4 separate regions of the Homo sapiens genome follow, and regions 2, 3 and 4 are each linked to region 1. Evidence: promoter capture Hi-C in 16 types of primary human blood cells and fetal thymus (Javierre and others, 2016). All regions are on one chromosome and are shown on one strand. The core of a region is centred on a gene start or on the middle of the fragment in contact, and the rest is flanking DNA. Distances in the headings are between cores, read along the strand shown. Region 1 holds the start of PDGFRA (platelet derived growth factor receptor alpha). Region 2 overlaps SCFD2 (sec1 family domain containing 2). Region 3 overlaps SCFD2 (sec1 family domain containing 2). Region 4 overlaps SCFD2 (sec1 family domain containing 2).

Region 1 (7,767 bases), core at 2,061-4,560:
CACACACACACAAAAGTGCCTTCTGGTGCCACCTTGCCCGACACGCGCCATAGCCGCCTCTGCCCCCTCAAGAGTCCGCGCCCACCCGCGCTTGTCGCTCCCCTTTCGCGGGGGCCGAGAAACTGCAGTAGGAGGCAGGGAAGGAGGCGCCCCAAGTCGGGTTTCCCATTATTCCCTCCTACAATCTACTTTTTCAGCCCATCCCAGGTTCGCTCATTGATCAGTTTAAAACAAAAGGAAATGCCGCCGAGCCACTTCAGCAAACGACAACCATCTGGCAGAACCCGAATTAGGGGGAAGTTGGGAGAAGCCATTTGCCCCCGATCCTGCATCTTGCGCCCCAGGCGAGACCGAAAGATTATCTGCCGCCCCAAGGCTGATGCTGCGGTTGGACCCGGCGAGTTAGACCCGGGGAACCCTGAGACCCACACCTTTCGGTCACCGATCCGGCTTTTAGCTCTTTTCCTAGAATTGTCACTTTTCCACCAGCAACGTATAACCTGGTCGCAGCTCCCCGGAGGTCAAAGGGAGTACTTCCCTGTGGGGTCTGCAGGAAGGCGCTGGCCACCACGTCCCCAAAACGCGTCCCGCCGCTGCGCGCCGCCCACGGTCCGTCCCCAGGAGGCACAAAATGGGCCCGCCTCGGCGCCAGACGTGTTTGCAGCTGGAAAGCCCGGCCCAATGCCCCTCCCCCTGCATCCCTCCTCAGTCCGCGTCCCGAGAGGAAACTGGCCCAGGGGCGCAGAGCTGGGAGCCTGGGATCTCCTTCAAGTCCTTCTCGATCTAAGGATTTAAACAAGAGCCAGGGCACCGGGGGCTAACGACGGGTTCATTCTTGGCTTCCCCTCACTCTTGTGAACGAGGTCCAGCTGCACTTGGGTCAACCCAAAACTGCAAGCTCCGAAGCAGGGCCTGACCAGGGCGTCAAAGCGAGCCTGGTCGGCCTTGCGCCTGTCGGGGAGTCGAGGCAGGGCCTCCTCATCTTGAGGGTTGTGGAAAGGAGGAGGCCGAGGAGAAAGGGAGAAGAGGGGATGCAATTCAGCAGTGCCGGGGTCCAGGTTGACCAGATTAGGGGTCGGGGATGGGACAGCGCGGCGGCTGGGGAGGTGCGCACGCCCGGAGAGCCCCTTCCTCCCCTCCTGTGGCTCCGGGGATGTTTGTCCGGTGAGATGCACTGCGGAGGACTGTCGTGCGTTTGCCCTGGATGCTCCCTGCTCCAAAAATCTGTCTAGTTCTTGTCAGGAGCGACCGCGGCGAGGCGAGTCGGTCCAAAACATTGAGCAATTTGGCCTCGGAGCCAAAAAGCCATTTCCCACACCGCCCAGCCCGCGGCTTTTCGGACGCGGGGCGGTAGGGACCTGATATGGGCCCCATCCATGCTTGCCTCCCACCCAGGAAGATGGAGTGAGTGGCAAGTTCTTCCAGGCACTCCTTGCGCACATCCTGAGGTCTTAGCACAATTCGGGGAGCGAAGTGCGGGACCGGCGCTCTGGCTGCGGGAGGGATGCACAACGCACAGCCTGCCAGGCCAGCAAGTCCTTCCCGACCAAGACGCGAGGCCAGGCCATCGGCAGCTCTCGCACACCTGGCCCGGCCCAGGCTCCTGGCTCCCTCTGGCAACGTACTCGGGTTGGGCCACACTCGTCGCTCCGACCTGGCCGACACCCTCCCGGAATAGAACAGCTGATCCCACATATTCAATGCCAAATGGACGCCGCCCGCTCCCTGGGCGCAGCCGGGCGGAGTTAATTTCGTGTGTAAATCTGGTTTCCATGGGGGTAGACAGCAGAGGAAGGAGAAGTACGCACAGACGGCTCTGAAGCCGGCAGGGAGAGGAATGGAAAAAAGGCCAACTAGAGAGGACCGAGCAGCGCTGGGCGAGCTCAGACGGCAAGTGCCACGCACCCCCGCGCGGAGAAGGGTGCCGGGTAGGGGGTGTCCAGGGCTCGGGTGCCCGGAGGGAGAATATGGTTTACCTCCCACCTTTCTGTCTTACCTGCAAACAAGTTTCCCCAGTTCCAAGTCGTCCCTAACTTCCTCACAAGAAGTTCGGCACCTTCCTGGAGACCTTTCCTCTCTTCCTGCCTGCGGCCAGAACTGAGCGAAAGCAGAGCCCCCGGGCAATGCAGAAATGATTCCACCGAGGAGGGGGCGCGGGAAGACAGGCGGGGGCGGGGGCCACGGAGCACAATGAGGGCCCCTTGGTGTGCGGTTCGAAATTCCTCAAATCCCAGTTGCTGGAATGCGAGGCGACGACGACTTCTTCACTCAGGGCCAAATGTGTTTGTCATTATTCCAGACCGCCCGCCCGCGCCGCCGCTGTCGCCCCCGCGCTAGGGCGTGCAACCCGAGCACACTGCCCGGCAGGCACCCGCTCTCCCTGGCACCTCACTGACCCAACAAACCGCTCCAGAGCGCCCCAAACCCTTGCCCACGCCCGCGCGCCTCTGCTTGTCCCGCAGCCGCCTCACCGCCGCGCCAAATCTGGCCCCGACTCTCTCCCAGAGCAGCGCCGTCCAGTAATCACGCGCATTCGGCCGGCTCCCTGTGCTGTAGGCCAACACCGAGGTCCGGTCTCCAGCCGAGCCCAGCCCGCCTCCTGCGCCCCGCAACCCCTTCGCGCGCCCCCCTCCACGCTCCCCTCCACGCTCCCCTCTCCCCACCTCCCCCTGGTCCCCCAGCCGCGCTCCACACCATGGGCTGCAGCGCTGTCCCGCCAAACCGCAGGCGAGGAATGAAAACACTCATTTAAAACCTGTCGCCTTCCAGGACCCACTGCCAAGAAGAGGGCAAACACCTCTGCCTCCACCCCCAGTTCCTTGGTGTTCGGCCCAGTATTCACGAACACCACCCCCACTCCCAAAAGAAACCTCAAAAATGTAAGCCTAAACAATTTCTTTGGGAGGCCATAGGGTTGTTAGAAAAACATTGTTTTTAAAAATAGGTCTGGAAAATGTGTGTTTAAAAAAAATACCTAGACTTTCTAACTCTATGGTTATCTCCCACCCGTCCCCAAGTGAAGTTTATTCCGAAAAAAAAAAATTACTCTCTGGACACACAACTGGAATCCAGCTCCTTTTTTTTTTTCTTGTCGCCCAAAGTTTGAAGTTACTTCGCTTTCTCCAGTCCCAGAGTCTGATCAGGGACTTCCCTTATAAACAAAAAATCATTTTTTCTTTTCCCTTACCTTCTCCTCCGATGTTATTCCGCAATGAATGTCCCACACATGGAGTAAAGAGCGTGCCCACGGCCTCCAATGATCTCTTGCAGTCTCCTCCTCTGTTTCTCTCCCTGTAGCTCCAACAGTAATGGGCTCAAAAACCGCGTTTTGTAATTGATTCAATGTTATAGTCCATCCTTCTAAAACTAATCATTTGCTCTAAGTAAATAGCTGTCAGGAAATAAGCCCCCCCTCAACCTTGGTCTCTTCAAAATAAAAGTTTCTCTCAAACTCCCTGCGCTCCGAATCTCCCAGTGTCCAGATTGCGCCTTCGCTTTTTGCTCTTACGCAATCAGGGGGTCCAGTCCCAACCCCCAGACTTCGACAACAACTGGGGGGCGGGGAGAAGCAGACCAGATGGGATGGGGGGTGGTGGAAGGGGGAGGTGTTGGTGCTCTGCCGGGAAAGAGGTTTTGTGAAACTACAAACAGCCCATCATTTCCAGAATGAGTTTGCCTCCCCATTTTGGGGTTATTTTCTTAGACTGCTATAGTTTTGTATTCTCTTTGAAAAGAAGAAAAGGAACATACAAAATTGCATTTAATACCCAGAGAGAATATAAATCTAGAATCAAGAAATGTCCCTTCTACAAACTCGGCCCAACGAGAAATAGGGCCCTCGGGAGAAATCTCCAAGCGGTTGCGCCGTTTTGAACTAGGGGTCTTTTAGGGGAAGGGCTATATAGTTGCTAGTTATTTAATAGGATTGGGCAAACTGTTGAGTCCAATATGACAATGATGGGTTTTTGTTTTGTGTGGTGTGTGTGTGTGTACAAGACTGGGTGGTCTGAAATACGGTACAAAGAAAAGAGGGTCTGTGTAGGTTTGGAACGTTCTCCGATAGAACGACCTTTACTCCCTTGAAGTCACTTATCTGGTCGTGCCTTTGTTTTCGGGGTTATCTGGGCGAGGTTGCCCTGGCTTCTATCTCGCATACAAAAAAAGCTCAAGCTTGGGCGTTTGAGGAATCGTACCACCGCCTCCGCGTCGTGGGGGAGGATGCCTTTTGATTCTCCCTCCGTTCCCTCCCGCCGCGTGGGTCGAACCCTACGAATTCCTTGGAATTGACAGCTGAGCCCCAAACCCTGCGCCCAAGGCGAGAGGCCAGTGTCGGGAGGAAACGATCCTGCCGGCGAGGGAAAGGGGGCGCTGATGCTCCAGGAACCAGACCTGGGCAGAGTGGGGCTTCCCAGCGACAGCGGGGGAGGGGAGCGCGTTCACCTTCATCGCTCTCTGATTTTTGAATTCTCCTGTTGGGGTTGGGGGTCATCCTTCATCCTTCTCCCTCAACCCCACCCCAACACACGCACTCTGAAAATGGCCAAAGTGGCCAGGTTGGGACTGGCATGTCCAACAGCCGTCTCCTCCTTCACCAGGAGGGTGGACACAGTGCAGTGGACAGGGGAGAGTCACAGAGAAGTACTCCAACGGGCGCGGTGCTGTGCCTAACCAGGACAGGATCTTGGGATGTCAGCCTCGAAAACAGGGCGCCTGGGGCTGCGCTGGGGGTCCCATTGCCGCAGTTCTTCTACGCGACCCGCTCTCGTGCATCTTCAGCTTGGGTGACTGCACCGCTCGCTATTACTTCCACATGTCCCTTCAGGAAATCATTGAAGGCAAATATATGAACAGCCCCTTGTTCGGAATGCTAACAGGATACCGTAATGTTTGTAGAAAATGAGCGGGAACAAACGATCCCCCCAAAAATCAGAGTGCGGAATAAAAGGCAAAAGCGGGTGCTGGGCCACATGCTGTTAAGTTGAGAACCGGGTTTTTAGGCTAGTTGCCCCAGAGGGTAGGAGGCGAGACAGACAGCCTACCCAGAGGGGCTGCTTTGCTTCGGCGACACTGTTAGTCCGGTCAAGCCAGGGTCTTCCGTCCGCAGGGCCCCAGCGCTCTCCGCCCACAAATGGTAACTTCACAGTTCATTTCAGAGCCGTTTAATGGGGCCCGAGAAGCAGTCCGGGCGGGAGTGTCTCCAGGCAGCGACTCCTCGGGAGTTTAAAGCAGAAAGCAATGGATGAGCAAGCGAGCACCCAGTTGTCCTTCTGGTAGTAATTACCTGCCTAATTTGAATGATGCCTTTGTTATGATCATTAACAAACATTTGCTAAAGGTTTCCATGTGTGACATTCTGGAAGGTTTAAAGGCCTGAGGAGCTGACTCCAGGGATAGTGCCCCGGTGGGGGGTGGCGCAAGAAAGCAAATGGTTGGGGGAAAATTTTGCGGAGAGACTGTGCAAAGAAGAGAGGTCAACATCTGCCTCCTCTGCAAAAGCAAAATAAACCCAGTGGTCAGGAGCAACCTCCGGACAGGAGGCCCTCGAACCGAGGCGGTTGGTTCCTTAAACCGAGTCCTGCCCCCACAGCCCCCGCCCCTACCACTGCTCATAGGCGGGTTTGAATCCTGTTTTCCGCCTTCTAAGGCTGGTCCGAGGCTGGTTCGGGAGAAGTCGGGTCTGCGCCCGGCAGTCAGTCCGGGGCGTCGGGGGAAGGTGGGGCTAGTTCTTGCCGCGCTCTCCCAGTGTCGTTCTAAGATCCTTCGAGATCGGTCCCACGACGCCCCGGGTCCTGGGTGGTCCCGGAGCCGCAGGGGGCTAGAAACCTTGCCCTCCTGAGGCGGGCTGCGGGTCTTTTCTCCCCTTCTTGTGCTTCTCACTGGGCACCGTGTGGGGGGTGGGGGGAGGGGACCAGGCCACCATATGTACCCGGAGGAGAGGAGCGACATGCACTGGCCTGGGCAGCTCTGCGCAGATCTCAACCCGCGCCCGGATTCTAATTTTCAACCTCTTGGGGTTTTTTGTTTTGTTTTTTCCTTGAGGGATTATCAAGGGGTTAAGAATGTGGGTTTTCTCCCCAAAGTGGGAGTCGGGGAGGCTGCGAGCCGAGAGGAAGGAGGCCCAACTCCCGAATTGAGCCGGGCCGAGAAGTTGGGAGAAAAGGGTAGGGACTGTGACAGTTCTGTCCTCCGCCTTGCGCGTCTAGGCCAGCAGGCGACATGAAATTGAGGGCAAGGGTATAAAAAGGTGCAGTCGATTAGCTGACTTTCAAAAAGAAGGCCTCGTAAACTTTTTACAACCAGATCAAAATGGTCACTAAAAACAAAAGCAAAATCTCGCCGTGCCCTGCCCTGCCTCCAGGGCCCGTTCTCCTGGCCCCGACTCCCGGGCGAGGGCGGCCACAGCTCCGAGCGCCACACCTTTGGCTTTGAGGGCGCTTCCCACTGAGTTGGCTTTTTGTGTCTTCTCCTCCTCTGCCCCCCAGCTCCACCGCCAATTCTACTTTCCTTGAAGAATTCAGGTCCGTTTGCCCTAGAAGCCGTACGAATTTAACAGTTATCAAAGCCGTTAGTTGTGAAAATCACGTTTAAACTTGTGAATTCTTTTTTTCAAATGGTGATGGGCGGGGCAAGGGAACGGGGGATGTTTCTGGCTTCACAATTTGAAAATGAAGGGCCCGTTTGGTGGTTTGCAAAAGAAAACGGTGCTAACTGCTCCTTCTCCCACCCCCTTTAACCCTTGGCTGCATCTGGAATAGCCGCCTCCCTGGGTCCAGCGAGGAAGGGTCCTTTGCCCGGAGGTGGTGGAGGTGACGCACAGATGTGGGGGGTCCCCGCAGACAGAGAGACGCCCTGGCCTCTGGTCTGCCCCAGCTGAGGCTCGGAAGCTAGCTCTAAGGAGTCTCTTTGCACGCTCAGAATTCAGAACGGCACTAGTCCTGGAAAAGGAGGAATTCTCTAAAAAGATCGAGATGGGTCTGTGCAGCTTGAGGTGAAAGTTCCCTCCCCAGGACTCCGCACCCACCTTGCTGGCTGGATCTCAAGGTGCAGCCTCTCTTCTGGGTTTGGGGGGCTTGCTCTTCAGGAAGTAGAAGCAGAGGGTTCCTAACAACGCAGCCTGTTTACAGACCTGAGGACAAGAGCTTGTTTCCTGGTCCAGCCCAGCCCGGTGGGCCATACACTCCTTAGAGCCTGGGACAGACTGGTAGGACTGGAACCCTCTGGATCTGGCTTTTGGATACCCCCTCCCTCGCTAGAGAGCCCCCTTCCTCAGTTTAGGGATGTTGTTGTGCCTCTGCCCTCTCCTGCTCCTTAGGTCTTTGGTTTTAGTTGCTTTTAATTTGAAAAACCATATGAGGGGAGGGGGAAGGAACGAGGAGATTGGGAGGTCTGCTCTTTATTAGGGGCCCAGGCCTCTAGCTTTCCAACACACAGCTGTGGCTGGGAGGGGAAGGAGGGCTGGCTCTGTGTAGGTCAGCCTCACTGAAGAGAGGGACTTGTCCTCTGGAAGTCCCAGGAGTCCAGCACAGCCCTGTGATTTTTTTTTTTTTAATCCTTCAGCAGAGACACTGCAGTGGAAAACCAGTGGAACCTCGACTCTTTGCTCATCCATTAAAAGGGGCATAATCGACTAGGCATGGTGGCTGATGCCTGTAATCCTAACACTTTAGGAGGCCAAGGTGGGAGGAACACCTGAGCCCAGGAGTTTAAGACCAGCCTGGGCAACATAGTGAGCCCCCATCTCTATTTAAAATAACAGTAATGACCATT
Region 2 (7,767 bases), core at 1,393-3,892, 1.0 Mb after region 1:
TGTATGTGTAGGGTGGGGATGCAAGCAAGCTAAATTCTAATCCATCATAGTAGGAAGCCAATAGAAAGTGCTAAAAAAGTGATTTTTAAAAGAAGTGGTGTAATTATAGCACTCTATTTTATGACTTGATGCTGATCGCCAGAGTAACCCAAACCAAAAATCAACCCAAAGTGATTTTCTCTGAGAAGTAGGCGCAGACTTGGGAAGGGGTGAGGTAGGAGGCTGCTGCTTTTCATTGTAAATTATTCTGTCCTATTTGAATAGAATCTTATGAACCATGCTTATATTTTACTTTGATAAGAATAAAATATTTTAAAAACAACGGTGATAGAAACAAAAAGTACTCAAAGTTCTATATTTTTAAAAAGGCAAGAAAAATATTTCTTCATGTACTCCATTGTACTTTTCTTTTCCCCCTTAAACAGAGGTCTTAATTTGGCATATAAGTAACTGCTCTTGGCTTTGTTTAGTCTCAAAAGTTCCCTTTGTTGGTAAGGTGAAGGTTTCCAGAGAAGACATTTTTCATAATCTATTTGGTTAATTAGGCGAGGTTTTTTGATGACTGAATAAACCTGACCAATGACCTGTGGACCATTTTGATTAATTTTCAATAGCAAATTACTGAAGTCCATAGATTTAAGTGATGGATGTAGTGACACGATGCCTCAAGTACTTCTTAAATTATTTTTTGTCTTTTGGTTACTGTTACCAGAATATACTTGTATTCTGTAGACCTGTTTCTTTGAAACAGATAATCACAGCAACCTTGACTGTCTGGAATCCTAAAGCTGACTAACCACTTAAGAAATCCTGTTACATTCTCCTTGGAGGTAGTGGTAATCTTAGTTCATTACATACATTTTAATATCAACATTTGTCTTAGTTTCCTTTACAGATGAATTTTGTTCACTTCTTAACATTGTCATTCCTGGATAGACTTGTTTTGGTCATATATATTATTCCTGAAAACTTTATTTGGCTGACCTTAAAGTTATCCTTAGTTTTCAGGAAATTTAGCCATTTCTCAGTTTAGCAGTCTGACAAGTTAGATGTAATTTATGCTTACAACTCGTTTACAATAAGGAGGTTGTTTTTAATTTGTATATTTTTATATTTCCTGAGTATGTAATCTTAGGCTTCATAATTTCTTTTGTGCCATTAACCATGTATAGATAATCAAACCTTCTTGGTGTAACATCCTTAAAGATTCTTATAAGATGCTGTTGTTTTGTAATATTTTTAAATGTGCTATCCTATTAGCACATTTATTATATATTACTAATATCCTATTAGTACACTTACTATAGTAAGATTAGCATTTACTATACAGTGACAGCTCTTCCATGACCTTTTACATCTGTTATCCCATTTAATCATCACAGCAAAACTGTGAGTAAGGCAGAGGAGGAATTACCATCCCCATTTTGTAGATAAGAGAGGATGAGTGACTTGCACGCAGTCATACATTGAGTGGGTCAAGAATGGCAATTCGTGGGGTTTTCTTTTGTATCGTTGCCATTTATTGAATAGTTCATGCTTTCCCCTCTGATTTTTTAAATAAACATTTTATTTAGAATACAGTAGTTTATGTTTACAGAAAAGTTGCACAGATAGTACAGAGAGTTCCTATATACCCCTCACTCAGTTTCCCCTAGAAAATTTGATTCTGACCTTGATTTCATGTTACTCTGCAGTAGGATTTAAATCTACGGCAGAAGGAGTTAAGAGTTTAATGAATCAAACAACAGAATGCAGGGAGTTAAGGGTTCATGCTTACAAACGATAAGGAAAGGTACTAGACTATATACAGCAGGACTTTCAACCCTTCCCTGGCCAGGCAGGCAGTAGAAACAAGATGTAAGACAATAGGGAGTCGTGGGGACAGTGGTGAACCTGAAAACAGGTGCCTAGTGTCAAGGGGCAACTACTCTTTAGTTCCTCTTTTTATTAAGCAGTTCAACTTCGGTGTTGCTTAAAGTTGCAGATTTTTAAGAGAAGTCAGCAGTTTGAATTTGTAATGGGAAATTTGTTAATTTTCAAGACACTCTTTTTGCTAAACAAAACATTTGACTCCCAGAGTCCAGAGCTGGGGATTCCTGACATTAAATGTTAATATTACTGTTCCCCTGTTAAGGCATGTGGGGACAGCCAGGGCTAAACTTATCTTTCCATTTACCTAGAGTGGTCTCTACTGGAAAGGAAATCAGGAAAAGAGTGCTCCAGGGACAGGGACTGTTACAAGCAGTAGAAGTGGGACTTTTTGCATCCAGGAAGCCCCTTTCTAATTGGTGCTTTCTGTTTTTCCAATAGACAAACCTTTTTGCAGTCACAAAGTGTGTTCCTATTGTTTTCTATGACAGTTACTTATTTAATTTCTGTAAGAGAACATATAACCAGCCAGGCGCGGTGGCTCACGCCTATAATCCCAGCACTTTGGGAGGCCGAGGCAGGTGGATCACGAGGCCAGGAGTTTAAGACCAGCCTGGCCAAGATGGTGAAACCCCTTCTCTACTAAAAATACAAAAATTAGCTGGGCACGGTGGCATGCACCTGTAATCCCAGCTACTCGGGAGGCTGAGGCAGGAGAATCACTGGAACCGGGGTGGCAGAGGTTGCAGTGAGCGGAGATCGTGCCACTGCACTCCAGCCTGGGTGATAGAGTGAGACTCTATCTCAAAAAAACAAAAAACAAAACCCATATAACCATAATTTATGAATATTTTCACACTTGATTTTTTTGCTAATGAATATCACTCAAATGTTATGTTCGTTTGTTTATTTATTTCTTATTTTTTGAGATAGAGTCTTGCTCTGTTGCCCAGGCTGGAGTACAGTGGCACGATCTCAGCTGCCTCCCAAGTAGCTGGGATTACAGCCACCTGCCACCAGGCCCAGCTAATTTTTCGTATTTTTAGTAGAGATGGGGGTTTCACCATGTTGGCCAGGCTCGTCTTGAACTCCTGACCTCAAGTGACCTGCCCTCCTCAGCCTCCCAAAGTGCTGGGATTACAGGCGTGAGCCACAGCACTCTGCCCTCAAATTTTATATTTAATACTGTTTTAGATCTAAAGCAAAGTAAATGCAACCCTTATACTTTCTGGTTATTGGTGTAGTTTTTTGTGATAACACATTTCATTTCTTAAATAATTTTTATGTCTTAACTTCTGTAATATAAGGGAATATTTTATAGTGATTATGGTTTTAAATATATTTATAGGAATTCTCTAGTTTTAACTTCTGAAGGAGTTCACAGACATAACCTTCTGTAGTTTATTTGATTGGAAAATCTTCATATTTAATTTGAATCAGAGCACTTCATGATTTAGTTGTAGTTCTCTTGTGTTATATTTCTTCGTTCATTTATTCAGCATCTATTATTTCCTTGGCATTGAGGATTCAACAGAGAACAAAAAACAGACTGAAATCTCTGCCTTCATGGAGTTTATCTTTTAGTATGGGAAGACAGATAGACGATGAAGAAAATAAATAAGTGAATCATATATTAGAAAGTATAATGCCGTGGATAAATGCCATGGAATAGGAAGTATTAGAGGTGGAGTAGTTTGCAATTGTAAAAAGGAGGGTCAAGAAGGCCTCACTAAGAAGGTGACATTTGGACAAACACCTGAAAAGGAATAGCCACTTGTATCATCTATTGGCAGAGGTTATAGCAAAAACAAAGGTCCCGAGATGAGAAGTGCCAGGTGTTTTCAAAGAGCAAGGATGCCCATGTGGCTGGAGCACAGCAGGCAAGGAGAACAGCCGAGGTCAAACAGAGCCTGTAGGGCCTTGTAGACCATGATAAGGACACATACACAAAACACACACGCCAACATCTGTCTATGCTACAGTTTCAGAGCTGTTTCTCAGTAGTCAAGTAGAAGATGCCAGTGATTGGGGATTATTTTTCATTATTAAAGTATTTTGTGCCTGTTGAAGATAAGGCTAAGGAGAAGATGAGGAGATACATTGACTGTTTCAGGAGGGATTCAGATCAGTTAAATATTGGAATGTGACTCCAGATTATCTGGTTTCCAATATAGAGTTAGACCTTTCTGTGTATTTTCATATCATGTTACTGATATCTTTATTATAGCATTCATGTTATTGTTTAGTTTGTATTGAAAATAAGTCCCAAAAGATTAGTTAATTCACGTATTCATTTTTCAGCAAAAATTTATTGGGTGATGTTGTGTTCTAGGCACTGGGTTAGGCTTTGGAGTAAGCAGTGATATACACTTAAGGATGTAGCCAATATTCTGGTGATGTATTCTAGTACAATGACAGTCACACAGATCTGCTTGGAGGTAGCATAGAGTAACCTCCTCCAGTCTATTTTGTGTGTGTCTAAAAGCAATTTAGGTAGTGCTATGCACTGAATGTTTGTGTCTCTTCCAAATCCCTATGTTGAAGCCCTAAGCTCCAATGTGATGGTATTTGGAGGTGGGGCCTTTGAGAGGTAATTAAGTTTAGATGAGGTCATGAGGGTGGGGTCCTTATAATGGGATTAGTACCCTTATAAGAAGAAATTAGAGAATTCCTCCCTTACTGCTCTCTCAGGCCCCGCCATGCAAGGATACAGCCAAGAAGGAAGCGAAGTTTGCAAGCTAAGAAATGTCTTGTTTAAGCTACCCAGTCCATGATATTTTGTTATAGTAACCCATGCTGACCAAGACAGGTAGATCAACTGGGGAGGGAAGGGACAACCATCTAACTTTCCTTTCCCCCATATTTATTGTCTCCTTTTAGTCTCATGTGACAGAATCTAAATCAGATGGTGATGAATAGCTTCAGGCATGTTTGGATCCAGCTTTTAAAAATAGTTTATCAGGAATCTGTTTTTCTTTGTTTTTTAATCCTACTCACTTTTTTACTGTTTTGTTTTTAGATATCCTCTTTCCAAGTGATGGCAAAGCTGTGCCCAACAGCAATAGCTTACATTCTTTCAGCATGAAACTCCAGCAAAAGGAACGTGCTTCTTTCCCAGGAGCTTAGAGAAAAGTTTTAAGGCTGATAATTCTTGTCACCAGTGGGACTAGCTTGGGCTATGTGCTTGATGAATATTTATTCTGTCTAGGGGAATGAATACATTGCATGAGCATTCCTGAGTTACCTGTCAGTTCCTGAAGTTTGGAAATGGAGGTGATCATATGAACCAAAATGGGAGAGTCCCCTAAATAAAAACTGGGTGCTATTATTCAGAGAAGGGGCAATGGATGCTGGGCAGGAAAAAAACAAGTGAGCACTGCATTTGGGATAGACTGGATAGACAATTTAAACAGTTATGTACTTAGACCTCCCCGCCCTTTTTTCTAGCATTTTGTGTTCAAGATTTATCTTACTAGATGGAATTAAGAATTTTCAACTAGGTCTATTCTCTCATTGGTTTTGAAAAGGCATGAGTTAATAGATTGCTTTCAATACTGTAATACCATGGCTTTCACTACTGTTTACTTTGGGAATCTTTGGTAACAGTCGTTAAGAATGAATGAACGTGCAATCTAGTTACATAGTGATGTGCCTGCTCCTTCCTTGCCATGTAGGGAGGATGGGGCTAAATATATTTGTATTCAGACTGGCTCCCTTATGAAGTTGGCCCTTTCGTAGATTTATTATGAAGTTGGAAAGCCACTAAACACACACACACACACACACACACACACACACACACACACACACACCAGTTTTGAAGTGTGAGGACTTTGTCCTCTAGCCTATTTTCAAAGTGGTTGAACTATTGTTCCCTTAGCTGTAACCAAGCATTTGAACTGTCAGGCAAAAGGTTTCTTTAAATTTGCAGAAAGCAATGAGTTACAGCGTGGGTAAACACAGATTGGAAGTGTTTCTACAACTATAACCATACAGATCACTAAATCTTCCATAATTAATGTTTGCTTTGCTTTTTCTTTTTGCTGCTGAGTAAGCATGAGATTAAGGTTTTAGCTTTATCCAGTACTGCTTAGTTATTTGTCTTTTTTTCTATTGCCATTTAACCATTAAGCATAGGATGTTCCCTTGAGTTGTTTTTTGTATTTGATTGAATTTTTCTGCTAAACTGCTTGAGCTGTTTCTGTACCAATAGAACCTGTGGGCTGAAGCTCATTACTGTATGACTTTTATAAGGAGCACAGTGCAGCCACAATTAAAGATATATTCTACCTGAACAATGGGCAAGAATATCTCTTGATGTTTAATTTTTCCTTTTGGAAAGATAATTTTTATTTTGTTAATTATGAAGATATGTTTATCATAAAGAATTTAGAAAATGTTATGGTTTTCCAAAGTCATCTATAATTTTATTACCTGGAGATAATCAGTGTTAGCATTTTGATATCTTTCCTTTCAGATCTTTCTTGTGTGTGTATATACACACACTCATACCTACACACATTTTGTTATTGTTGTTGTTTTAATGAAAATGGGACCATATAATAAGCTGTTATATCATATTTGTTTCATTTATGGCATTAAGTATCTCCCACAAGATCACAGCAGTCAGTTTTGTAAAGGTATTTAGTTTACTAACTAGTCTCATTGTTAGATCACTAGGTTATGTCTAGTTTTTCACTCTTATAAACAAGGCTGCAGTTTACATCTTTGTGCATATCAGTGATTATTTCCTTGGTATAAATGCCTCAATTTCCTAGGTCATAACATATGTACTTTTTTCTTTTTTTAGATTTTTATGGATGTATAATAATTATGCATTTTTAGGAAGGTATGCACATTTTAAGGCTTTTGATGGTTATTGGCAAAGTGCCCTCAGAAATATGCCAATTTAAGCTTTCCACAAGACTCTCTATGCTGTCCATTGCTTCACAGCATTGTCAATATTGCTGATTTAATAAGAAGAAAAATTTAATGAATACTTTCTAATTTCTTAAATAAGGTGTGTTTTCTCATGTTTTTCTCATTTGTATATATTAATGTTTTGTGAAATGCTGAGCTCGGCTTTCCTTTCTTTTCTACTGGAGTTTTAATCTTATTAATTTGTACAAGCTTTTCATGTATTTATGACAGTAATTTTTTTTTCTGTTTGTCATTTGATACTGATTGACTTGATTGATACTTTTATAGCATAAATGCTTTTTTCTTTTTACAGTCAACTCTATCTTTTCCTTAATTGGTTTGTTTTGAAATGTTTATGGAAGACATTATGTCATGCGTTGTGTTGAGAGCCTGATAGTCATTATCTCCTTCATTCCACTGTGCAACCGTGTAAGTCAGATATTGTCATCATCCCCATTTTACGGTTGAATAAACTGACTCTACAAACAGCAAATTGGGAATCAAAACCATGTAGCCTAACTCAGAGCTGGCTCCCTTGAACATTTATTTAATTCTTCTCTTGCTTGATTTTGCTCTTGGTGTCCTATTTAGGCCTTCTACCTCTAAAGATTTTGTAACCATTCACCTGTATTTTCTTTCAGTATAATTATGGTTTAATGTTTACCTAATATTTAAATGTTTTATCTCATGATCTCTGGGATCTCTTTTGTTCTGTCATCTGCAGAAACAGAATAACTGCTTGTTGCTTTTTATTCATGACTCTTTCTTTGTTTTTAGAGCTGCTGCTAAATTCCTTTCTTCCTTTTTTCCCATATTAATGCTAGTATAAGTAAGTTCAACAAACATTTTCTGGACATGTTCTTCGTGCAAGAATCTCTGCCAAGCATTGTAGGAATACAAAAGTGAGTAAGACAGAGTCTGCCTCCCCAGAAACTTGTGATGTAATGACAAGAAAGAGAAGCATTCATAAAGAGCTTT
Region 3 (7,767 bases), core at 1,586-4,085, 1.0 Mb after region 1:
ATATCTGTCATAATACCATGCTTATTAATTTATTAAAAAGAATAATGCACGTTATTAATAAAAATAGAAATAAATATATATGATAACATAAATAATATGTTTTTCAGAACAGAAATATTTAGTGAGATGAGTGGTATTGTTTTACATTCTGCAAATCCCTTTAATGTCTGGTTTAATAGAAGACAGCTGGATTCTCGTCTCTCCTTCTGCATTCAATCTGTTGTCGTATCACACATCACATAGCTTCTGGAAGACTTCACTCTATGCTCCTGAGAGAATGAGAGTGAAAAAGAAAAATAATTACTTAGTATTATTATGAAAATAATTTTGACCTCGTGGAACCCCTGGAAAGTTCCCTCAGGACTTTCCTGACCACAGTTTGAGAACTATTGGCCTACACAAATCTTTCCAGCCACACTCCTGTGTTAAGCCCTTCTGAGCCTCTTTGTATCAACACTTCAGCCTGCCCCTTTTCCCACCCCTACTCACCTATTCTCCTAGCTGCCCACAGTTCAGAGCCCAGAATCTTAAGCATTAGAGTCAAGTAGAGTCTATCCAGTACAGATATCTATTATGGGAGGGTTCTTTGGCTCAAGGTATCATGAAAATATCAAAAGGATTCATTGAGAATGAGTGAACCCACTTTCTGAAATTAAAACTATAGTTGAAGTCTTCTTATCCATGGTGATAAGGGCCAGAAGATGATTGGTTAATTGAAAAAGCACTTCAAAAGAGAGAATCATAGAAAGATTCATACATACATCAACTTTTTTTTAACTTACAATGTGTAAAATATCTATTTATTCACCAAAATTTTGGTGTAGTGCTAGGCCTTTTCTTTGAGAAAGGGTTTACTGATTGGAGTTCTCCATCCTCTTTTTTGCCTAAATCACACTCAAAATGCATCATCTACTATTTCCAATTTTGTATTTTTTTTTTTAATGGAGAAAGAAGACTACAAAGTTACTAGCAAAACAATCTAAGGACTGTAAGAACACTGGTATGTCACTTCTTTATACTATAGTTTCTTGAGGACAGAGACCATGTCATCATTTTTCTACTCTTAACACAGTGTCTAGCAATAGTTGGTATTCCCTGAGTGGCTTTTTAGTTGAATACACAGTGAGGGCATGTATCCGTGAAAGAATGAAGCAGAAGCTATACTGTATAATGAAATTATGTTCATTGTAAATAATTTCTGACCCACTATTAACACTATAGGAAGGAATACCCAAATGGACATTCTTATATTCCAAGAGGAACTGATCATTAGTGCTGAACTTCCACTTGGTCTTTGAAGAGAGTCATCACACTTTTCCAACCTCAGCATCCAGTTCCCTAAGGATACATTGAGCACAAATACTAACCAAAAGTCTGTTACTCAAAGGAGAAGCTTTCCTGGCTGCCGCCCCCTCATCTAGTGTATCATTGTATTTAGCTTTATCAAGGGCATGGTAGGATGCATTAAGCACTAAGGTTTTGGATTGTTGATATTATGTTAATATCTGTATAGACTTCGACCTTGGAGAGTGAGAGCAGGAAGTCAGCACAGGGTTGACCGTATATCCCTTACTATCATGTAACCTCCATAGGATGACCAACTCATTTCAGTTTGCCTGGAACTTTCCTGGTTTTAGCACTGAATGTCCCAAGTCCTGGTAACTCCTTCAAACTCAGGCAAACTGAGAGGGTTTGTCTTAATCCTCTACCCTAAGTCTGTGCACAGGAGCAGGGAATTCAAACTAGGGTTTGTTAGAAATGCAAATATTGGGTACATTCCTGTGGCCAAGAGTCCCTTAGTTGCCTAAAGGCAGGCAGGCAAACTTTCAAAGGGCCGAGCTTCTTGAGATTAGTCTCTTTCACTGGAATATTTTTAGTTTTGCTAAAAATCACAGTAACATTGCTCACTTAGTTTATCAATTTATCATTTAATGTGAGACGTACTTTTAACAAGATATTTAACTTATAAGATTTTTCTAGTTCCTTCTTTGCCTAATTCTGAAAATGTATATGCTTCCATTGCTTTGGAATTATGAGAGGTGTATATGGCTTTGACTGGGAGGTAAGAGCACTGCCTTAGCCTTTGCTGCCATGGTGCAGCATAGAACACACACGACTAGGAGTCAGGAGATTGGGTATGCACACCAGCTTTGCCACAAACCCAGCTATGGGGAACTTGGATAGGACCTAGCTTTGCTGAACTATGAGGTCTTTTTCTACAAAATAGGAGAAACTATAATAACATTGTCACAGATTGTTCTGAGTATTAAGAGATAACATGCAGGAAAGTGTTTGTGACATGTACAGGATTATTTAGTAAATATGTATAGATCATTGTTGATGTACCTGCATTACTCAATTGTTACTTCGCTCAATAAACTTGCTTATTGTTTTCAATGTCAATGTATTAGTCTGTTCTTGCACTGCTATAAAGAAGTACCTGGCGAGGTGTGGTGGCTCGTGTCTGGCCCAGGACTTTGGGAGGCCAAAGTGGATTGCATGAGCTCGTGAATTTGAGACCAGACTGGGAAATATGGCAAACGCTGTCTCTCTATATATATAAAAAGAAAAAAAAAGAAAAGAAAAAAATTGCTGGGCATGTTGGTGCACACCTGTAGTCCCAGCTACTCAGGAGGCTGAGGTGGGAGGATGGCTTGAGCCTGGGAGGTGAAAGTTGCAGTGAGCTGAAATCTTGCTACTGTACTCCAGCCTAGTGATAGAGCTAGACTTTGTATGGGGGGAAAAAAAAAAAGAAAAGAAAAGAAAGAAAAAAGAAATACCTGAGACTGAGTAATCTTTAAAGAAAAGAGGTTTAATTGGCTGGTGGTTCCACTGGCTGTACAGGAAGCATGGCTGGGGAGGCCTCAAGAAACTTACAATCATGGTGGAAGGCAGAGGGGAAGCAGACATGTTTTCACATGGCCCGAGAAAGAAGAAGAGAGAAGGAGGAGGTGCTACGAACTTTTAAACAACCAAATCTCCTGACAACTCACTCACAGTACCAAAGGGGAAATCTGCCCCCATGATTCAATCACCTCCCACCAGGCCCCACCTCCAACACTGGGGATTACATTTTGACATGAGATTTGGGTCTGTATATATATATATAAATATTATATATATATTATATATATATAAATATTATATATATTATATATAAATATTATATATATAATATATAAATATTATATATATAATATATATAATATATATATATGAAATATATATATAATATATTTCAAACTACTCAGCCATGTTTTGTTGGTTTATGATGTTTTCAAGTTTGACCTTTTCCAGACACTAAGGATTGTTGGTTTTGTCAGTATAGCAGTTTGAAAAATGTGAGCACTATTTAAAAAAAAATTCTCCCCTCTTGCCATCATCCTTTTTTTTTTTTTTTAGCAAAAATGTATTACATTCCTAGGTTTTGTCAGTGCTGTGGTTTGAATGTGTCCCCCAAAAGTTCATAGGTTGGAAACTTAATCCGTAATGCATCATTGTTGGGAGGTGGGGCTTAATAAGAGGTAATTGGGTCATAAGGGCAAAACCGTCACTAATGGATTAATGTATTATCATGGGAGCAGGTTAGTTATCTAGACAGTAGGTTGTTATAAAGTGAGTCTGGCCCTGGTACCTCTCTTTTGCACAGGCTCTCATGCCCTCTCGCCATGCCATACCTGCCACCATGTTATGATGCAGCAAGGAGGCCCTCACCAGATGCTGGAACCATGCTCTTGGACTTCTCAGGCTCCAGAATTGTGAGCTAAATAAACTTCATGTCTTTATAAATTACTTAGTCTTTGTATTCTCTTATAGCAACAGAAAATGGACTAAGACAACCAGGCACTGTTAATTTAATTTTTAGCAGGCAAACTCATGCATATAGCTTTAAAAATCAAATATGATCCTCACTTTGCACAGTAGTGTAGGATGGTAAAAATGACTGTTCAGAATTGAGGCCATGCAAAGTGATTTAATAACCAATGAAAAATAATAATTGTTCCATGACCATTAAATTATTTTAGTCAGAATATTACAAACTCATTACTGTCAGTGATACATGTATAGGGTAATTAGTATTTATTTAGTATATTGTAATTTAAAGCAGTGGCAACATTGAGAATTACAGTGGAGTTTTTACGATTAAAAAAACTTGAGTAGTTTGAAGATTTCTCACCTTCTATAACTTACAATATGGAGCAAACATGTTTTCTATGCTTTGGTAAACAGTCATAGTTCTTTCTAAATTTGGGTTAACTTACAGCATTTTAAGCTTTGTACATTCAAAGTCATGCATATCTCTGAGAGGTCCTTTAATGTGAAGATTTTTTGCTTGCATCACTTCCTCTGGAACATCTTCATCTTCTGTTTGCTAATTTCTACTTTTAGTTATTTATTTTTTAAATTAAATGTCATATGGGCTTATTATTGGGAGACAAGGAGGCAACAGCACTACACACTTTGCTGTCTGTGTGTGACCCAAATAAGAGATATGCAGTAACTGGTTGCCTACAGACTTTGAAAGAAGTGACATTATTAGTCATTGACCAAGATGCACATCTGTTACTTGTGTAGTGATTTGTGGACTAAAAAGCTAACAGTGAAATTTGAACTCTATAAAATTACTCACAGCTAATATACCAAGTTAACTAAAATTTTTGCTGCACTTTGGGGGACTAGTGTAATAATAATTAGTACTGATAATGCCCAGGCAAAAACTGTTCACAGCTGAGAGTTGTAAAGTTCTATGATTATATTTACTTTTTCCTTTGAGTTGATAATTGTGTTTTTTTTAATTTATTAAGCTTATTTTGTACTATTACTAACTTTTTGCCCATCTTTTTTTTTTTTTGAGACAGTCTCGCTCAATAGCCCAGGCTGGAGTACAGTGGCTCAGTCTCGGCTCACTGCAAGCTCCGCTTCCTGGGTTCATGCCATTCTCCTGCCTCAGCCTCCCGAGTAGCTGGGACTACAGGCACCTGCCACCATGCCCAGCTAATTTTTTTGTATTTTTTTAGTAGAGATGGGGTTTCACCGTGTTAGCCAGGATGGTCGCGATCTCCTGACCTCGTGATCCGCCCACCTCGGCCTCCCAAAGTGTTGCCCATCTTTTAAGAGCCTTTTTCATCTTTGGTTCTTGACTTTTTCATAACATGAATCATGTTGGTGTAAGGGTTTCAAGCAGTTTTGTGGTTTGTTGTTGCTTTTACTGTTTGTTTGCTTTAACCTCTGTTCTATTCTCTTTTTATCTTAGGAATTCCAGTTCTCATTGTAGGCATCATCTTTCTTTGCTGTCATTCTTCACATTTCATTTGCTTTTTTCCTGGGATGGAGTCAGTTTTTCTTGGACCTCTTTATTTTTATCCTTCCTGGTTTACTTCCTTTATTTGATGGGGCACATCCAGGTAAAAAAAGGTGGTACAGAGGTAAATGGGACAGTGGCAATGATAGCTTTCAGTGTGCTTGTCTCCTGAATTGGACATTGGTGCAGTCTGGACTGCTTATCTTATATGTGTAGTGCACAGTTGTGATCCAGAGTTCTTTTCACTGTCATTCTGCAGATTCCCTTTTCGTCTACCCTGTGTTGGATCCCCTGTTTTCTTCATGCCATATCTTCCTCGCTTACAACTTTTTTCCCTCCTGTTTTTTAGAGGACATTGTCTAGTAATTTCCAGACAAAAAGGACAAAGGGATATATCCTTTGATATATTGAAAAGCTGAAAATGCCTGTATGTTATCTTCCTATTAGTAATATGGCTGAATATACCATTCCAATTTAGAAATAATTTTCTTTGGGAATTTTGAAGGCATTTCTTCACTGTTTTCTTGCTTCCAGCATTGCTTTTGAGATTTCTGAACCTGTTCTGATTCCTAATCCTTTGTAATATATGTAATACATGTTTTTCCTTACTATGGAAGCTTATAGGATCTAATCTTCTTACCAGTATTCTCAAATTTCATAATTGTGAGCCATGCTGTGGGTCTGTTTTCATCTAGTATGCTGGGTACTCTTTCAGTATGGAATCACACAGCCTCAACTCTGGAAAATTTTCTTGATTTTTTAAAATTCCCTTTTTCCATTTTCTCTGTTTTCCCTTTCTGAAATCCCTGTTCTATTTTTGAGAAGATTCAAAAAGTTTTTTAACCTTTTTCCTCTTGTTTGTTATTTCTTTTGTCTTCTTTTTTTTCTTCTTCCTCTGGGAGATAGTCTCAACTTTATCTTCAAAGCTTTTTATTGAATTTTTATTTTTGCTCATATTTTTAATTTCAATCTTTGTGTGTTTATATGTGTACATGTCTGTATTCTAAATATTATTTTTCTAAATAGTGTTATTTTTTATGGATACAATATTTTCTCTTAGTTTTTCAAGGATGTAATTTTTTTTGGACATTTCCTTTTCCCTGCATGGATTTTCCAAATTGCTTTTTTAAAAAAAGTTGTTTTATCTTCCATATTCCATGTTAGAAACTTTCTGCAGATATTGGATAGTTCCAGGTTGTAAAGATTAAGAGTGGAGATCTAAAAAGCCAATGGAACAGGCTAAGTTTATGGGGGGTTTGTGGCTTTGAGGTTTACTATAGAATGAGGTTTGTTGGAGAGCCATCAGAATCAGTATTAGATCTTTCTTCTTGAAATAGACATATTCCCACAAAGAGTACCTTTCCAGTTTCCTACATGGAATAGAAAAGATCTGGATGCATCTTCTGGGAGACACATAGAAGAAAGGGTACGTAGTGTCAGCAATCAGCTTTTGGTGTACATTCAGTTAATAATTCTCAAGTTTTGCCAATTAATTCCTAGACCAAAATGTGATTTTACTCTCTCCAGATACGAAACCTCCTGCTGAGTGATCTGGATGGAGTGTTGGTGGGGACATTTAGGGATCCAACTACTTCTTGAAGAATTTTATCCCATGTGTTATTAATTTACCCAATTCCCTCCCAATTTTAGAATAAACACTTGCTGCCATTTCCTGAGCCTTTCAAGGATTCTATAGTATAAGTAGGTTTGTTTCTCACCTCTTCCACCAGTTGGGATTTGGCTTTTTTGACTTGACTTTCATAAGTCCTTTAACCTTATTCATTGGCTTTCAAGCTCCTAAAATGCTATTGCTATCTCCTTCAAGTTTATTTTATTTTTTTGCATTTGTGGGTTTATTAATGTATAAAAAAACAACAAAACTTTTTTTTGTTTTTCTTTTTAAGTAATTTAGTAGGGTTTTTTGAGGGAGTGTATTTATTTTTCTATGTTTCATTTGATCTTTCTTTCTTTGATCGAAAATTGAAAATCCAACTTACAGATCTTTAGTTATGCCTCATGATCTAACTAGAATCAAATACAAGCTAAAAAAAATCTGATTATGCCTTCTCTTTTTAAAATTCATGTTTGTCAGCATATAAACAGAACCAAAGACAAAAACCACATGATTATCTCAATAGATGCAGAAAAGGCCTTTGACAAAATTCAACAACCCTTCAGGCTAAAATCTCTCAATAAATTAGGTATTGATGGGATGTATCTCAAAATAATAAGAGCTATCTATGACACACCCACAGCCAATATCATGCTGAATGAACGAAAACTGGAAGCATTCCCTTTGAAAACTGGCACAAGACAGGGATGCCCTCCCTCACCACTCCTATTCAACGTAGTGTTGGAAGTTCTGGCCAGGGCAATCAGGCAGGAGAAGGAAATAAAGGGCATTCAATTAGGAAAAGAGGAAGTCAAATTGCCCCTGTTTGCAGATGACATGATTGTATATCTAG
Region 4 (7,767 bases), core at 3,285-5,784, 1.0 Mb after region 1:
CAATTCTGGCTTTTGTTGCCATTGCTTTTGGTGTTTTAGACATGAAGTCCTTGCCCATGCCTATGTCCTGAATGGTATTGCCTAGGTTTTCTTCTAGGGTTTTCCTGGTTTTAGGTCTAACATGTAAGTCTTTAATCCATCTTGAATTAATTTTTGTATAAGGTGTAAGGAAGGGATCCAGTTTCAGTTCTCTAGATATGGCCAGCCAGTTTTCCCAGCACCATTTATTAAATAGGGAATCCTTTCCCCATTGCTTGTTTTTGTCAGGTTTGTCAAAGATCAGATAGTTGTAGATACATGGCATTATTTCTGAGGTCTCTGTTCTGTTCCATTGGTCTATATCTCTGTTTTGGTAACAGTACCATGCTGTTTTGGTTACTGTAGCCTTGTAGTATAGTTTGAAGTCAGGTAGCTTGATGCCTCCAGCTTTGTTCTTTCGGCTTAGGATTGACTTGGCAATGTGGGCTCTTTTTTGGTTCCATATGAACTTTAAAGTAGTTTTTTCCAATTCTGTGTAGAAAGTCATTGGTAGCTTGATGGGGATGGCATTGAATCTGTAAATTACCTTGGGCAGTATGGCCATTTTCACGATATTGATTCTTCCTAGCCATGAGCATGGGATGTTCTTCCATTTGTTTGTATCCTCTTTTATTTCATTGAGCAGTGGTTTGTAGTTCTCCTTGAAGAGGTCCTTCACATCCCTTGTAAGGTGGATTCCTAGGTTTTTTATTCTCTTTGAAGCAATTGTGAATGGGAGTTCACTCATGATTTGGCTCTCTGTTTGTCTGTTATTGGTGTATAAGAATGCTTGTGATTTTTGCACATTGATTTTGTATCCTGAGACTTTGCTGAAGTTGCCTATCAGCTGAAGAAGATTTTGGGCTGAGATGATGGGTTTTCTAGATATACAATCATGTCATCTGCAAACAGGGACAATTTGAATTCCTCTTTTCCTAATTGAATGCCCTTTATTTCCTTCTCCTGCCTGATTGCCCTGACCAGAACTTCCAACACTATGTTGAATAGGAGTGGTGAGAGAGGGCATCCCTGTCTTGTGCCAGTTTTCAAAGGGAATGCTTCCAGTTTTTGCCCATTCAGTATGATATTGGCTGTGGGTTTGTCATAAATAGCTCTTATTATTTTGAGATACGTCCCATTAATACCTAATTTATTGAGAGTTTTTAGCATGAAGTGTTGTTGAATTTTGTCAAAGCATATCTTATTTCAATATCTGAGATATAGAAAATATCTTAACGTTTGTATCTATTTTATCTTCATCAAACTCATAAAAGAGGTAATGTTATTGTTGAAGCAACAGAAGACAACAAGTTTAAGTGACAACTTGTACATAAGGGTTTTTGCCAAGAGTCGTAGAAGAAGGATGACTATAGCTGCTCATGTCTCTAACTTGGTCTAATGTTGTCAGAAATGTATCAATCTTGCCAGAAACCCTTATCACTTTTGTTTCACCACACCACTCCCATTTTTACCCTGTTCTTTGTAAAATCATCCTGAAGTCTTTACAAGATGTTTGTACTGAAATTATGAGATAGTTGATCCCCACTACCACCCCATCTACCACCATTGAGCTCTTGCCCAGTGACAAGAACTAGGCTTAAATGCTTCATATGCATTGTCTTATTCAAACCTTACAGTTCTAGGAACTATCCTTGTTCCTGTTTTACAGAGGAAGGAACAGAAGCTTAGAGAAGTTAAGTATTTACCTAGGTTACATAGTTTATAAGTGGTGGAGCCTGGATTCAATCCTGTCTCTGCCTGACTCCAAAGTCTGTGCTTTCAATAACTCTACCACACTACATTGAAGAGCTTATTTGAAAATATAAATTAAAAAATGTAATTGTCAAACTGCACTTCTAGTATGAGAAGTGCAGCTCTGCCTGTTTATAAGCAAATCATCTGTACATACATTTATCAGAAAATACAAATAAAGTCAGATTCATAATTTTTGATTTTTTGCAGAAATAATTCCTTATTTTTGTTTTATGAATAAATATATACCCTGGAATTTCGTTTGGAGCACTCCCCTCCAGTATTTGTAGTTCATCTTATTTGCCATTTTCCAGCCATATATTATGACTGATGGGTGAATCATATTGGAATAAAGGGTTTAGACTTCCCAGTGCTCAGCCCCAAAGGTGAAGGTATTCTGCTGTAGTGAGGCTTGATCCAAACAACAAATATAGTTTTTAAATTCATGCAAAGACTTTGTATTGTTGTTTGCATTTACTTCAAAATCTTAGCCGTTTTTATACCAAGATTCTCATTTTTGGAAGAACTTTAGCGTCATCTTTACAAGAATCCCCTCTATGGCACACCCTTCTATAGATGGCTTATATGGGTTTATTTAAGATCTAAATTTCTTTGTGAACATTGGCTACACAGGAGAATTTCACTGTTTGCTGTGACAGGAAAAATCATCAAGGAAATTGCCATTTTTTTCCTCTTTAAAATTTATTTTCACATCTCTCATATACAATGTCCTTTTCTCACATTATACTTAATTTTGTCACCTTTCTATGGCTGAAATTATAATTGGTGTCCTTTTATAGAAAATTGTAGAGTGGTGATAGGAAGGATTTTCATCACTGAAGAAGGTCAGGTGATGCTCAGATAAGAGGCCAGAGGAGACGCTTACAGAGGTCACACATACTGGCCATCTTTCCATCTGTCAGCCACATGCTCCATCTTCTTTCGCAGGAAGACAGCATGACAGGAAAGGATGAGAAGGTCCAGGACATCCTCAACAGCAAGGAGTTTGCTGAAATGCACCTCATTAGGGATACCTTTTTTAGATCGGGGTAAATAACCCACAGAAAAAATGTAATCCCCTGATAACTGTACAAGAGTGTTAAAAATAATTTAGTTAGTGATAGACAGGTTTTTGAGGGTTGGTTGGTTTCTGGTTAAGGAGGCAGCCACAGTGATCTTCTCTTTTACTGGGTCATTTCTTTACCTATATGTGTTACCTCATCCTTCAAGTCCAAGTAAGCTGCCTTTTTTTGGTGCTGCCCATCCTCTTGCACTGATCACCCTAATTTAAATAATTCAATTAATTTAAATATTGCCTAACTTATCAGTCTCCTTAGCTCTCTGAAGGCAGGGATCCCATGTTTTGTTTATTGTTATTTTTCCACCTGGCAGATAGTACGTGTTCATTAAAAATTTCCTCTCAATTTATTTTATGAACTTCATTGCTCATCAGAATGTTAGTGAAAAATTTTTTAAATAATTTGATTAAGTTATTCTTGAAAACAGCCAAAAAAGCCTAAAAAACAGTAATGTTGGGAAAAAGACTTGTGTCAGCCCATATGATAATACTTATCAATATTATATATCAATATATATCAATTATACATCAATAATGTTTATCAGTATTTTCTAGTAGTCTTTTTGGGTTTTGGTCCTTACATTTTAATTCAGCAATTAGTCCCCTCCCCCCCATAAAAATAATTACCAATAATGTTGTATTGCTGCAAGATAGTTTAGGAACAGATGCAAGAGTATTTTAGTGACTTTTTTATTTGTTAAAGGCAGTATCACAAACCAGTGGGAAAAGAAATAATATTTAATATGTGGCTAAGAACAATTGATGAGGGGAGTGATTATTGCTATATTAAAAGATAAATTAGAAATCCAAAACCAGCCTGGTTGCAGTGGCTCATATCTGTAATCCCAGCACTTCGGGAGGCCAAGGCAGGATGATCTCTTGAGGCTTGGAGGTTGAGACCAATCTGGGCAATACAGCGAGATCAAATTTCTATACTGTTAAATTTAAAAAAATTAAAAATACCCCAAATAACAAGTAAACTACCGGAAAATATTGGTAAACATTGAGTTTATTTTGGAATAGGGAAAAACCTAAAAGCCATGACATTAATCACAAAGGGGGAAAGCCACCAAATTTGATAATAGTATGGCTTAGTGGTTTAGAGAAAGGACCTTAAGATTAGAGGGTTCTAGAACTAAATGCTGCTGATACTTACTGAGTGATCTTGGTAGAAATTATCTACCTCATTAAGGCACAGTTTCCTCATTTGCAAACTAGAGGGGATAATCATAATAGCAAATTCATTAAGTCTTTAGAATACAAAAATTTATGTCAGGTAGTCGCCCTTTGGCAATAACATAGAAAACACAACAAATTTTAGCCATTATTATTAGCTCTAAAAATTTTATATAGGGTGTTATCAACTCACCTTGATAAAAGCAAACAAAATAGGAAAAGTATTTGCCATAAGACAAAGATTGATGTATATTACATGTGAAGAATTTGTTCATATGGATAAGGAAAACATCATTCAACAGAAAAAATGATTTTTAAAATGTGGCCAGCCATTTTACAGATGAGGAAATAATAGTGGCTAATAAGCATATGAAAAAAATGTTCAGTTTTCCTAGTAATAAAAAACCCCAAACAATGCTGAGATGTAATTTACCACTTAAAATTATCAAAGATTATCAAATAATAATTAGTGTTGGGTAGAGCTCAGTAACATGTTCATTCAGAAACATTACTATTGGAAGAGTGAATTTTGTCAAAGCACTTTGGCAATAAACCTTGAAAAGGTTTATATTTTTTATGGTAATTTCATTTCAGATTAAGATAATTAAGAATATAATCAAATATGGTGATATGATTTATGTTGTAATATTTTCCTTATGGTTTTTATTTATAATAATGACAAATTAGGAACAACCTAGATGTTTTACAGTGAGATTGATGGAATGCATGTTATAGTTGTTAAAAATTAAGTTATTGAAGAATATTTTTAATGAGGTGTGGAAATGTTATTCATGTAATGTTAATAGAAGAGAGTTTATTCTCATGAAAAACAAAACTACATATATACCATGAAGCTAACTCTGTTAAATAATAAAAAAAGGTGAAGAAAGTAGAGGGAGATTAGATATATAAAGTAGAAGAAATACTGGAAAATACATCACAATTATTATCATAGTTTTCTAAGTAGTAGGTTTTTCAGTTATCTATTGCTGCATAGCAAATTACCCCAAAACTTAGTGGCTTAAAGCCAGCATTTTATTAGAGCTCACAGTTTGTGGGGGAGGAATTCAGGCAGAGCTGAGCTGAGCAATTCTTTGGCTCTACATGGCATCTACTAAGGTTATTTGGGGGCTATTCAGCTTGTAGAGAGATGATCCAAGATGGCTTCAGTCATATATCTGGGCTTTGTAGGGACTAGGTAGAAGGATGGACTCAGCTGCAGTGCCTACGCATGGCCTCTCCATCATGGCAATCTCAGGGTATTCAGACTTCTTACACAGAAGTTAAGGTATCCAGAGAAATTGTTCTGCGGGAACTGGCAGAAAATGTAAGACTCTTTTTTTTTTTTTTTTGAGACGGAGTCTTGCTCTGTTGCCCAGGCTGGAGTGCAGTGGGGTGATCTCGGCTCACTGCAACCTCTGCCTCCCAGGTTCAAGCGATCCTCCTACCTTAGCCTCCTGAGTAGCTTGGATTACAGGCACATGCCACCACGCCTGGGTAATTTTTGTATTTTTAGTAGACATGGGGTTTTACCATGTTGGTTAGGCTGGTCTCGAGCTCCTGACCTCATGATCCACCCGCCTCGGCCTCCCAAAGTGTTGGGATTACAGGCGTGAATCACTGCGCCCAGCCAAATGTAAGACTTTTTATCACCTAGCCTTGAAAGTTCCAGAAAGTAATTGACTAGCTAGAATGAAGGAACTTAATTGACTAGCCCAGAATGAAGGGAAAAGAATTAGACTGCACCTCCCAAGGGGAGGAGAAGCAAAGAATTTATGACCATCTTTATCTTCTCTCAGGTGGATTGTGAGATTCTTATTTTCTTTGTGTTTCGTAGTATCTATAATGCAGAAGTATTATTTTTGTAATTTGTAAGAGCTTTTTATATATTAAGTTTATAACCTTCCATGAGATTTGCATAAAGTAGTTAACATTGTGTCTGGCATAAATAGAGCTCTCTATAAATGTCAACTGCCATCAGTATTGTCTTTAGTTCTTTTATGTTAGAAAAGAAACACATTGGTGGACTTATTTGCGGTGGCTCATTTTAAAAGGCATTAAAAAGTCATAATTGCATCTAGGCAAGCCAAACGAGATTTCCATGAGAAAATGTTCCGTGAGACTATGTTTTGAAGGATGAAAGGGAATTGCCGGTTAGGGAAGGACGGGAAAGACATGCAAGACAATGGGAACTGTATATGCAAAGACACAGAGTTCTGATAGCGCATAGCATGTTGCAGGATCTCACATGGCAGGGTGTGACTGTAAGGCATGTGTTTGTGGAAAAAGGGCTGACACCTGGAGGGGAAGAATTACATTCCAGAGATAACCAAGAAACAGAATATACAGGTCCTAGTGACTGATGAACTATAACAGTTCCTTCAGAGTTACAGCAAACAAAATTTAACTTTTCACTAGTTAAAGCAATCTTACTATCTGTTCCTGATTTAGTTTTCTTTCTTTAAACCTCAACATGAATTATATGCGAAAAGGACAGAATTCAGACTAAGTAATAAATTACATATGGGTAAATTTCCTTTCAAACTAAAAAAAGAGAAGAATTGGAGAAAATGACAGGCCAAGCCATATTTTTAGTTTAAAAATAAAATGATTTATATATTTTTTTCAGAAAGCCAATAGAACTGAACATTTGTCCATCATCTCAGAATGGGTGCTCCTGCCTGTTGAGCTTATTAGCTCCATTCTTACTGTCCCAGGGCTCTCGTGTTTGTGTGCCATATGGGTTCCACATCTGGTGACCAGTCCGTGCTCTTTTGGGGGAAAGAAAACAAAACTTCCTTGGAGGGACTACAGAAATACGTTTCTGTAGAATCTGCTACTGCCTATGCCTGCAAATATCTGGGTACCAAATTAAATGCATAAAGCTGAAGTTATATTACTTTTCAAAGATAACAGTAACCAGATAGGACACAATACAAATTAGGGCTTTAAACATTGTGGTACCAGTTCTTTCTTCTGGCATATTATTTGCAGTGATATCCCTTTGATGTTTTGACATATCTCTGAAATCATGATTAAATATGGTAACCAGAACTAGAATTGACTTACTCTGGGCAAGTCATTTGGAATCAATATTATAGTGAAAAAAAAAATGCTATTTGGAGTAGTTCTTCCAATTGCAATGAATTTAATTGGTGTTGAAGTCCCGTCTTGTTTTCCCTAGAACTGTCATTAAAATAGTTATCATGATAAACCAATAAAAATTTCAAATAAAAAGTAAGTTCAGGATATTATTAGCAAATATTTATCACTTAATGTTTTCTAAATTTATCATGCACAGATATCCACTGTCCCATGGATAAAAATGACAGTTAAGCTTTTGCAGTCATGTAAAAATAATTACTTCTATCAAAGCTTCAAGCTTCAGGAAGAATGTCAGAGCACATACATGTATAGTGGTTTTCTCCAGGTTAAATACTATGATGGTGACACACCAGGATTCCGTGTTTCAAAACCAAGATTTTTATTCTCTTCTTAAGTCATTGAGTCATTGCTGCTTCTCTCACTGTTTTAGAACATGATTAAAATTTGTACTGTTTTCTTGTGTTAGAAAAACAAAGGTGAGGGTGGGCGGGTGAAAAGGAAAGACATAATCCAGATGAGATGGTAATATAGGAACAGATTTTCACAGTGTTAGCCGATGTTGTGAAAAGCTGTTTTAGTCATAAGCCTAATGGAAAAACAATGTGGCCAGGAACCTGTCTGGTACTGAAATTTGACTC

Evidence for each region. Contacts are between HindIII fragments. The CHiCAGO score rates a contact against its expected background, and 5 or more counts as called.
Region 2: a fragment that was not itself captured here is called in contact with the fragment with the promoter of PDGFRA in region 1 in 17 of 17 cell types (naive CD4 T cells, total CD4 T cells, total B cells and 14 more); the score reaches 19.0 in naive CD4 T cells.
Region 3: a fragment that was not itself captured here is called in contact with the fragment with the promoter of PDGFRA in region 1 in 2 of 17 cell types (erythroblasts and naive CD4 T cells); the score reaches 6.9 in erythroblasts.
Region 4: a contact is called between a fragment that was not itself captured here and the fragment with the promoter of PDGFRA in region 1, in 1 of 17 cell types (erythroblasts). The highest score is 5.1, in erythroblasts.

Annotation. Positions count from the first base shown.
Region 1 is chr4:54,224,836-54,232,602 of GRCh38, reverse strand. PDGFRA (platelet derived growth factor receptor alpha) reads right to left here and starts at 3,310. Exons shown (of 23, transcript NM_006206.6): 1 at 3,188-3,310. RefSeq lists enhancers at 4,012-4,837, 5,666-6,491, 6,492-7,319 and a silencer at 5,960-6,147. The HindIII fragment of the contact is 8,996 bases long and covers 1-4,172 here.
Region 2 is chr4:53,186,333-53,194,099 of GRCh38, reverse strand. The region is part of intron 4 of SCFD2 (sec1 family domain containing 2); the gene reads left to right. Among named protein-coding and RNA genes, the nearest start is that of SCFD2, 180 kb to the left of the region's middle. The HindIII fragment of the contact is 8,287 bases long and covers 1-6,785 here.
Region 3 is chr4:53,202,945-53,210,711 of GRCh38, reverse strand. All of the region lies in intron 4 of SCFD2 (sec1 family domain containing 2), which reads left to right. Among named protein-coding and RNA genes, the nearest start is that of SCFD2, 160 kb to the left of the region's middle. The HindIII fragment of the contact is 2,880 bases long and covers 1,396-4,275 here.
Region 4 is chr4:53,221,998-53,229,764 of GRCh38, reverse strand. The region is part of intron 4 of SCFD2 (sec1 family domain containing 2); the gene reads left to right. Among named protein-coding and RNA genes, the nearest start is that of SCFD2, 140 kb to the left of the region's middle. The HindIII fragment of the contact is 5,659 bases long and covers 1,705-7,363 here.